Regions from separate parts of the Homo sapiens genome. Here region 2 is linked to region 1. The links are contacts of gene promoters, found by promoter capture Hi-C in human tissues and cell types (Jung and others, 2019). All regions are on one chromosome and are shown on one strand. The core of a region is centred on a gene start or on the middle of the fragment in contact, and the rest is flanking DNA. Distances in the headings are between cores, read along the strand shown.

Evidence for each region. Contacts are between HindIII fragments. The study calls those that stand out against the background at their distance.
Region 2: a contact is called between a fragment that was not itself captured here and the fragment with the promoter of MAPK13 in region 1, in 1 of the 25 tissues and cell types used here (IMR-90 fibroblasts).

Annotation. Positions count from the first base shown.
Region 1 is chr6:36,128,316-36,133,419 of GRCh38, reverse strand. It overlaps MAPK13 (mitogen-activated protein kinase 13), which reads right to left and starts at 2,907. Exons shown (of 12, transcript NM_002754.5): 1 at 2,719-2,907; 2 at 2,020-2,149; 3 at 741-799. The coding sequence starts at 2,837. RefSeq lists enhancers at 1,182-1,431, 2,142-2,261, 2,153-2,756 and silencers at 1,902-2,011, 2,652-2,721, 2,762-3,011. The HindIII fragment of the contact is 28,110 bases long and covers 1-5,104 here.
Region 2 is chr6:35,602,871-35,607,884 of GRCh38, reverse strand. The region is part of intron 5 of FKBP5 (FKBP prolyl isomerase 5); the gene reads left to right. It also overlaps the pseudogene RPL36P9. Among named protein-coding and RNA genes, the nearest start is that of MIR5690, 59 kb to the left of the region's middle. The HindIII fragment of the contact is 9,658 bases long and covers 1-5,014 here.

The sequences.
Region 1 (5,104 bases), core at 1,658-4,157:
TTAGATCCCTACTTTAGATCACTAACACTGACCTCCAGGCTCTCCCCCTCTGCCTCCGAGCTGCTTCCTACTCCTTTCTTGCTGCTGCCAGTGTGCATCCCCCAAATCCCATCTGAACATATCACCTCCCGGCTCAAAGTCCCCAGGTCTTGAGGCTGCCTGTAGGGTCAGTCCAGATTCAGCTTGACCAAGCCAGCTGCTGGCCTCCACGTGCCACACTGACTTCTCCATCTTGTCCAAATAGTCCAGTCTCATTCAGACACTGCACAGGCAAAGCTATACATTTTGCAGCTAAATATTCTGGTTTTCTGCCATTCTGTCAAACACCCCCATCAGCCAGAGGCAGCCAAGGCTTCTTAATCCTTGCTTCATGCTAGAAAGAGCTCCAAGGTCCAGACTCACATCTGTGTCCCCAGGAAAGGTGAGTTGGTGCTAACCCTGTGAGGACTGGCAGATGTGTCTTCATGGTGTTAAAGCTGGGTAAAAAGCAAAGCAGCTGTGCAGACTGCCCCCTGCCAGGCAAGCACCCCACAAAGTCCTTCCTGCCTCTTCCTGCCTGCCTTTGGCTAAAAGCATCTTTCCAGAGAGAATCACACTTGACAGGCAAAGGCACAGGACTGCCAGGGAAGGAGGCTCTCCCCGCCACACCCGGAATAGAAACCCTAGACCCTCCCCCACCTTGCTCCCCAGCGGCATGTAAGGCCTGCAAATGCCCCAGAACCCAGTGCAGCCCAACTCACAAGTCATAGAAGTTGCGCAGGGAGGAGGCTGGGGTGAAGACATCCAGGAGCCCAATGACCTGGGGAAGAAGTCACCTGTGAGGGCTAGACAGACGCTACCTTCTCCTCCCACCTCCTCCTGGGCCCTGGCCATGCACAGGGCCATCCACCCTTTCCTAATACACCACCTCCAGCAGGAGGCATGTCTCCAACCTTCTTGGAAGCAGTAAAAAGGGCAGAGGCCTAGAGGAATCCCCTGGATTTGGAGGGAGTTTGCAATAAATCATGACAGAGAGTCAGGCTGGGGAGAAGGGAAGGTGGGGAGAATGATGTGTGCTCATTGCTGTCAAGTCTGGTGTCAGGGCAAGCAACACAAACCCACTCTCAACTCACCTAGGCAGCAGGAAAGCATAAGGGGAGGGTGGAAGGGAAAAAGGAGGGAACAGAGAAGGAGCTTTTCAGCCAGCAAACTCCCTGCCCCTGACCTTGGGTCTCCAGCCACATCCATCCTTGCCTGCCACAGGGCTGGTTCAGAGCCAAGGGCAAGATCACCCTGGCTGGAGGCCATAGGGGAGGGGTTTGCTGGAGAAGGATGGGCTTAAAATGTACATAACATTTTGAAATCATTCTTTGAAATGTCTGCCCTCCAATCTAGGTATCCTGCAGCAAAGCCTGGCTGCCAGGCCCTGAGCTGGGCCCCTGGTTTTCCCAGCTGCTTCTATCAGACAAGACAATCTGATGGTCATGTGCTCAGACCGGGAGCCTCGCTGCCGAGATTGAAACCCCAGCTCTGCTACTGACTAACCATCTAATCTGTGAGCCTTGCTGTGCTTTAGTTTCCTGTCTGTGACATGGGGGCAGTAGTACTCATATATCATGAGGACTAGACAAGTTAGTGTATGCAGAGCTCTTAGAACATAGGAAGTGCTCAATATGTGTATATTGCTATTGTTATCAGGGTCACGTGGACACAACGCTAACTAGGATTCTAGTCCCAGCTGGCCACAAGCTCTCAGACATGGAACCAATTACAAAGTTCCCCTGTGCCAATTTCCTCTGTAGGATAACACAGTCTGTACCTCACAAAGTGCATTCTGCCAAAAATACCCTTTGACCTCTTCCTGGAAAGTGGGCAGGGAAGGTCTCGGCACCCCCTCCTTTCAATAGTGAGGCGAGAGGCACCGTCAGGGGAGCAGGGAGGAGACTGTCCCGAGCTCTCCATACCGGGAGGCCCCGCCTGCGCCTGCCCCTGACTCCCCAGGGCAGCCCCCACCCCCTCCCCGGGGCAGCCACCACCTACGTTCTCATGCTGCATGTGCTTCAGCAGCAGCAGCTCCCGGTAGGCGCGCTTGGCGAAGATCTCGGACTGAAAGGGTCGGCTCAGCTTCTTGATGGCCACCTTCTCCCCTGACCGCTTGTCGATGGCCGAGCTGTCGGGCACAGGCCGGTCAGCAGGCGAGGCTCTCCTCCTGGGCCGTATCTCCCAGACCGCCCTGACCCCTCCCACTGGGCAGCTGGGCTGAGAGGGGACTAGGCCCACCACCTAGAATATGGGGGAGCCGCGGGACGCAGGGCAGGGAGTAGGAAGCCAGGCAGGAGCTGAGAGAGGGGCACAGCGCCAGGGGCAGCAACGTCTCATTGCGACGGGATCCACGGCAGGGCGGGAGTCTCACTCTGTCTGCAACTTGGCGAGCCACCTCCCCCTCTTGGGGCCTCGGTGTACTCGTCTGTAACAGTGAGGATCTGCCCGATGAACTCTGGGGTCTTGCAAGTGTACAGTCCTGGAGAACCAGGCCCAGTCCCAACTCAACCCCCAGAGACCTCACTCAGCCACTCGGTGAGAAAAGGGAGATGGCCGCTGGGTGGCCCCGGGGAGGGCGCTGGGCCTTGAGGTCCGCGGTCAAGGTGGCGCTGGCGAGGGGCCAGCCCAGGGCGGGCTGGGCGGAAAGGGGAGAGCCTGGCGCCCGCCCCCCGCCCCCCAGCGGCCCAGGGGTCTCACCACACGGAGCCATAGGCCCCGCTGCCGACGTGCGTCGGGGACACGTAGGTCTTGGGCAGCTCCCAGGCTGTCTTGTTGACGTCCTGCTTGTAGAAGCCCTTTTTCCGGATGAGGCTCATCCCGGGCACCCGATCTCGGCGGCCCCAGCGTGGCGGCTGCGTTCGCGGCCCAACGGGCTCCCAGCGCCCCGACCCCCGCTGCGCCCGCCCCGCGCCGCCCGCTCCTCCCCCGCGCGAGGGCGGGGGCCCCGGGCTGCTACGCTCCCACCTGCCGGCTCGCCCAGGTGCGCCGGGGCCGCCACGCCCGGGCCTGTCCAGCCCTGCGCTCCCGCGCTTCCGCCCGGCCCGACGGAGCCACTGCGGCAGGTGCGGCCCAGGCACGGGGTCGGGGCTGCCCAGCGGGACCCCGGTGCCTCCCAGCCGAGCGCGGGCCAGCGGCGGGGCTGGTGGGTCCAAGCAGGAGCGGGGAGGCAGTGCTTCCCAGTTCCCTCCAGCCCCGGTCTCCGTAGGAAGAGCTCCCTGTGACTGTGAACACACAGGAAAGCAGAACAAAACCCCACAACCTCTTCATTATGGAAAATGTCAAACATGCAGGAAAGAATTGAACAGAGTAAGCCAGCGCTTCTCACACTTCAGTGTGCTCAGGAATCCCCTGGGCATTTTATTTGATTAAAATACAGATCCTGACTCAGTAGGTTTGGGGTGGAGCCGAGATTCTGCATTTCTAGCCAGCTCCCAGGTCTGAGGCTTCTGAACCACATCTGATAGGAGGTTCTAATGAACCCCCGTGACCCCAATTCCCCAGCAACCACAACTCATAATCAATTTTATTTCATCCACATTCCTCTCCCACCATCGTTTTGAAGCAAAACCCAGGCGTCATATCATTTTATTCATAAATATTTTTGTATCTCTAAAACGTAAGGATTTTTAAAAGTACGTATCCACAATACTATATATATATATTTTTTGAGACTCTGTCGGAGTGCAGTTGCCATCTCGGCTCACTGCAACCTCCGCCTCCCGGGTTCAAGCAATTCTCTGCCTCCGCCTCCCGATTAGCTAGGATTGTAGGTGCCTGCCACCAAACCCGGCTAATTTTTGTATTTTTAATAGAGATGGGGTTTCACCATCTTGGCCAGGCTGGTCTTGAACTCCTGACCTCGTGAACCACCCGCCTCGGCCTCCGAAAGTGTTGGGATTACAGGCGTGAGCCACCGCGCCTGGCCCACAATACATTCTTAAACCTAAAATTAATAGCACTAATTCTATAATACCAAATATCCACGCAGGTTCAAATGTGCAGGATTTTTGTTTGTTTTTGACATGGAGTCTCACTCTATTGCCTAGGCTGGAGTGCAGTGGCGCCATCTCAGCTCACTGCAACCTCCGCCTCCCAGGTTCAAGCAATTCTCTTGCCTCAGCCTCCTGAGTAGCTGGGACTACAGGTGCACACCACCACTCCTAGCTAATTTTTGTATTTTTAGTAGAGACGGGGTTTCACCATGTTGGCCAGGCTGGTCTTCAACTCCTGACCTCAGGTGGTCCGCCCACCTCAGCCTCCCAAAGTGTTTGGATTACAGAAGTGAGCCACCGCACCTGGCCCAAATGTGCAGTTTTGAACACAGTTTCTGTGGACTTCCTAAGGCTCTATGAGGACAATGACTAATTGGGGCCCTTGCCACCTGTCTGGTGGCCTGTGCAGCCTGATGGAGATTCTTTGCTCAAACCACAAAGGCCTCTGAGGAGCAAGGTGGGCAGGTGGGGGGAGGAGATGGCTGCAAGGGCTCTGGATGCCCAGCCTGACTTGTCCAACCCCTCTCTTGCCCAGGCATGGGGCTGTGGAAGGGGCGGGGACCACCTGCTTCACTTTGTCAAAAAGAAGGTCTATTGAACAAGGAAAGAAATTTGCTAGGGGCTTACAGCAAGCCGGGGGCCCACACTAGGGAGTCTGCAGCCCCCAAACTCTGTGCCCCAAGCCCTCCCGGGCAGTCCTGCAGCCTCAGGCACAGCCTGGAAGATCATTCTGAGATGAGGGTGGGGTGCCATCATCACACAACAACACCTGCCATTATTTCAGTCAGGCAATCTGTCTTTTTCATTTCTGGCACATGGCAATATAACAGCAAATGTGTGGAGAATGAATGGAGGAGTCAGCCCATTAGATGTAAAAGAGTCATTTAATACACACTTGTGTTTGCCATGTGCCCGTCATTAAGTGTTTTATATAACTCACTTAATCCTGGTAAGAGGCCTGTGAGTCAGTAATATGATTATCCTCATTTTAGAGATGAGGAACCCGAGGTACAGAGAGGCTAAGTAATTTGCCCAAGGTAACACAGCTGGTAAGGGCAGAGCTGGGTGAAAGCAAGTACAGCCTGATTCTA
Region 2 (5,014 bases), core at 2,047-4,546, 530 kb after region 1:
CCTCCTGCTTCCTCTTGGTGCATCCCCACCCTTGTCTTGATGAACTTGAGGGCCCATTTGTCCTTGGAGACCTTCAGTAACTCCATGGTGCACCGCTCGTATGGGGTGAAGCCACACAGCTCTCAGATCATGTCCGGCACGAACTTGGTATATTTGGTCAGGTGCCTGCAGCAGCGGCTGTGCCTGGGCGTCCTCATGTTCTCGGTCACCTTGTGGCCCTTGTTGAGGCCCATGGCCATAGGGCAGCACAGAGCCATGGCCGCTGCTCTCCAATGGTGGCCGTGGCAGAAGGAAGCCCACATTTTTATCCAATCCACCATTGATGGACACCTAGGTTGACTCCGTGTCTTTGCTATTAAGAATATAACTGTGCTTAAGAGTAAGTGCTGTGTGTGGCTCATGCCTGTAATCCCAGCACTTTGGGAGGCCAAGGTGGGATGGTCACTTGAGCCCAGGAGTTTAAGACCAAACTGGGCAACATAGTAAGACCCCATTTCTACAGAAAAAAAAAAAAGGCCAAGCATGGTGGTGCATGCCTGTAGTGCCGGCTACTCAGGAGGCTGTAGTGGGAGGATCATTTGAGTCACATTTATACCACTGCAGTCTAACCTGGGCAACAAAGCGAGACCCTGTCTCAAAACAAAACAGGCTGGGCGTGGTGGCACATGCCTGTAATCCTAGCACTTTGGGAGGCTGAGGTGGGTGGATCATTTGAGGTCAGGAGTTCAAGACCAGCCTGGCCAACATGGTGAAACCCTGCCTCTACTAAAAATACAAAAATTAGCTGGGTGTGGTGGTGGGCGCCTGTAGTCCCAGCTACTTGGGAGGCTGAGGCAGAATTGCTTGAACCTGGGAGGTGGAGGTTGTAGTCAGCTGAGATTCTGCCACTGCAGTCCAGCCTGGGCAACAGAGTGAGACTCTGTCTCAAAAAACAAACAAACACACAAACAATGCTGCAGTAAACATGTCAGTGTAAATGCCAGCTATCTTTCTGATAGAACGATTTATTTTCCTTTGGTTGTATACCCAGTAATGGGATTGCTGGGTCAAATGGTACTTTGATTTTTAGTTCTTCGAGAAATTTCCAAAACTGCTTTCCACAGGAGCTGAACTAATTTCCATTCTCATCAACACTGTTTAAGCATTCCCTTTTCTCCACAACCTTGCCAACATCTGTTCTTTTTTGACTTTTTTTTTTTTTTTTTTTTTTTTTTTTTTTTTTTTTGAGACGGAGTCTCATTCTGTTGCCCAGGCTGGAGTGCAGTGGCGCGATCTTGGCTCACTGCAACTCCCGCCTCCCAGGTTCACGCCATTCTCCTGCCTCAGCCTCCCGAGTAGCTGGGACTACAGGCGCCCACCACCACGCCCGGCTAATTTTTTAAAATATTTTTAGTGGAGACGGGGTTTCACCGTGTTAGACAGGATGGTCTCGATCTCCTGACCTCATGATCTGCCTGCCTCGGCCTCCCAAAGTGCTGGGATTAAAGGCATGAGTCACAGCGCCCGGCCTTGACTTTTTATTAATAGTCATTCTGACTCAGTTGTGAGATGGTATCTCATTGTGGTTTTGATTTGCATTTCTCTGATGATTAGTGATGTTCGGCATTTTTTCATGTTCGTTGGCTGCTTCTTCGTGTCCTTTGCCTACTTTTTAATGGGGCTATTTGCTTTTTTCTTGTTGATTTGTTTAAGTTCTTTTCTGGATATTAGTCCTTTGTCAGATGCATAATTTGCAAATGTTTTCTCCCATTCTGTAGTTTGTCCATCTGCTTCGTTGATAGCTTATTTTGCTGTGCTGAAGCTCTTTAATTAGGTCCCAACTGTCAGTTTTTCTTTTTGTTGCATTTGATTTTGGGGACTTAATCATAAATTATTTGCCTAGGCAATGTCCAGAAGAGTATTTTCTAGCTTTTCTTCTAGGATTTATATAGTTTCAGGCCTTACATTTAAGCCTTTAATCCATCTTGAGTTTGTTTTTGTATATGGTGAGAGGTAGACGTCTGGTTTCCTATTTGGATGCCTTTTATTTCTTTCTCTTGCCTGATTGCTCAGGCTAGGACTTGCCGCATACTGATTGCTGTGGCTCAGTACCATGCTGAATAGGAGTTGTTAAGAGTGGACACCCTGTTTTTTTCCAGTTCTTAGGCGGAATGCTTCCAACTTTTGCCCGTTCAGTATGATATTGACGGCTGGGTGCAGTGGTTCACACCTGTAATCCCAAGACTTTGGAAGGCCGAGGCAGGAGGATTGCATGAGCCTAGGAGTTCAAGACCAGCCTGGGCAGCATAGTGAAACCTTGTCTCTACTAAAAATAAAAAAAATTAGCCACACATAGTGGCATGCACCTGTAGTCCCAGCTTACTTGGGAGGCTGATGCAGGAGGATCACTTGAGCCTGGGTGATACAGGCTTCGGTGAGTTATGGTTGCACCACTGCACTCCAGCCTGGGCAATGGAATAAGACCTTGTCTCAAAAAAAAAAAAAAAAAAAAAAAAAAAAAAGATATTGTCATAGGTGGCTCTTATTATTTTGAAGTATGTTCCTTTGATGCTTAGTTTATTGAGGGTTTTTTATAATGAAGGGATGTTGGATTTTATTGAATGCTTTATGCTGATTGATTCTGAACATTGATAAAGAGGTATATATATATATCTTTAAATGATTTGTTCAGACTTTAATGGAAAGTACTAGTAAGAATAGCATGTAGAATTTCCAAATCACCCCATGTGGAGTGGGGAAATAGAGGAACAAGGAAAACTTCATCAATTGAGCAAAAATTGTTTTAAAAAATAAGAAAACACGGGCCGGGCACGGTGGCTCACGCCTGTAATCCCAGCACTTTGGGAGGCCGAGGCACGTGGATCACGAGGTCAGGAATCGAGACCATCCTGGCTAACATGGTGAAACCCCATCTCTACTAAAAATACAAAAAATTAGCTGGGCATGGTGGCGGGCGCCTGTAGTCCCAGCTACTTGGGAGGCAGGAGAATGGCGTGAACCCGGGAGGTGGAGGTTGTAGTGAGCCGAGATCACACCACTGCACTCCAGCCTGGGCAACAGAGCGAGACTCCATCTCAAAAAAAAAAAGAAAACACTGTGTAGAAAACCAAAGACAAGAATAAAACCACTCATATCAGTGATTACAAAAAATATGAATGGGATAAAGTCACCTATTAAAGGCAAAAGGTCTCATAAAGTGAGAACAACAACAGTATCTAGCTATGTGTTCTTTATAAATGAAACACTAAAATCAAAAAGGTACCAAAAATTGAAAATAGAGGAAAGATTACGTCTGCCCATATTGAGATCTGATGGAGCTGTGAGACTTTACATTTTTGTTTTTCATATGCTTTTGAAGTATTTATGAATGTCCTGGGATATAAGTCTAGGAATAGGAGCAAATTCTTGAAACCATTTTATTATATGTTTTCACAAAATAATGTAATATGGTACTTGGTCTAAAGTGGCCAGTGTTTATTCTTTCAAATATTTTGGATTTATATAATTTCTTTCTTCCAAAAAGTTATCTTCAAGTCTTCAGGTAGAATAAAATCATAGTAGAAAATAAGTCTTTCTGGCCAGCCATGGTGGCTCACGCTTGTAATCCCAACACTTCGGGAAGCCAAGGTGGGAGGGTTGCTTGAGGCCAGGAGTACAAGACCAGCCTGGCAACATGGTGAGACCCCATTCTTAACAACAACAACAACAAAATAGCCAGGCGTGGTGGTGTGTGCCTGTAGTCCCAGCTACTAGGGAGGCTGAGGAAGGAGAGTAGCTTGAGTCCAGGAGTGTGAGGCTGCAGTGAGCCATGATCACACCACTGCACTCCAGGCTGGGCAACAAAGTGAGACCCCCAACTCAAAACAAAAACAATAAAGAGGCCGGGCACGGTGGCTCACACCTGTAATCCCAGCACTCTGGGAGGCCAAGGCTGGAGGATCACTTGAGGTCGGGAGTTCAAGACCAGCCTGGCCAACATGGCGAAACCCCATCTCTACTAAAAACACAAAAATTAGCTGGGCATGGTGGTGCGGGCCTGTAGTCCCAGCTACTTGGGAGTCTGAGGCACAAGAAGTCCTTGAACTCGGGAGGCAGATGGTTGCAGTAAGTGAAGGTTGTAGTGAGGCAAGATCACGCCACTACACTCCAGCCTGGGCAACAGAACGAGACTCTGTCTCAAAAAAAGAAAGAAAACAGTCTTTTGTTGCTGCTGCTGCTGTTGTTGTTGTTACAAAAAAAAAAAAAATTCCAGCCAATTGGCCATTTATTTTAGAATAGTATTAAAAAACAAAGTTTCCATATCAATATAAAATTTGTATAGCTTCCTAGAATTTATTAAAATAGGAATACTAATAGATTCAAAAAGGAAAATTTGTATAAATTAGTGAAAATTACCACCCTGTCCTTAATGCCCTATTTTAAGATTAGTCATTAAATAAATATTTACTTGCTGGCCCTGAACTCTGTGCTGGGTACTGTGAGGCACAAAAGAAGTACAAGATACTGCCTTTGCCTACTAAGAATTTTATTCATACTTTGACAGCTTTCTGTGTTGAACCAGTAAATGTTTTCTTACACAGAGCTCTAAAACATGTTTAATCTGGTATAATTTACCACTAGGCACAGGAAAATAATTATAGCTAACATTCCTTTAGTTTGTCTCTGTATATCCACACTTAACAACAGCATTTTCACATGATAGACACCCTGACATATGAATGAATGAATGAATGAATATCAGGTGCTAGATTAAAAGCTCTAATTCAGTATCTAATTTAATCCTCTCAACAATTATCATTTAGCTAGTGTATTATCCACATTCTATCAGTGAAGAAACTGAGCTTCAGATCACTTTAATTACCTTGCCCAAAGTCATAATTGAAGTGGCAGAATGGGACTGGAATCCAGGTCTAACTCAAGTGCTATAGTGGTGTGAAGGGAAGACTGGTAAGGGTTGGTGTTCATGGAGAATTTGTTGCTGGGTGTATACTTCTTGTTTAGATTTCCTGTTTTG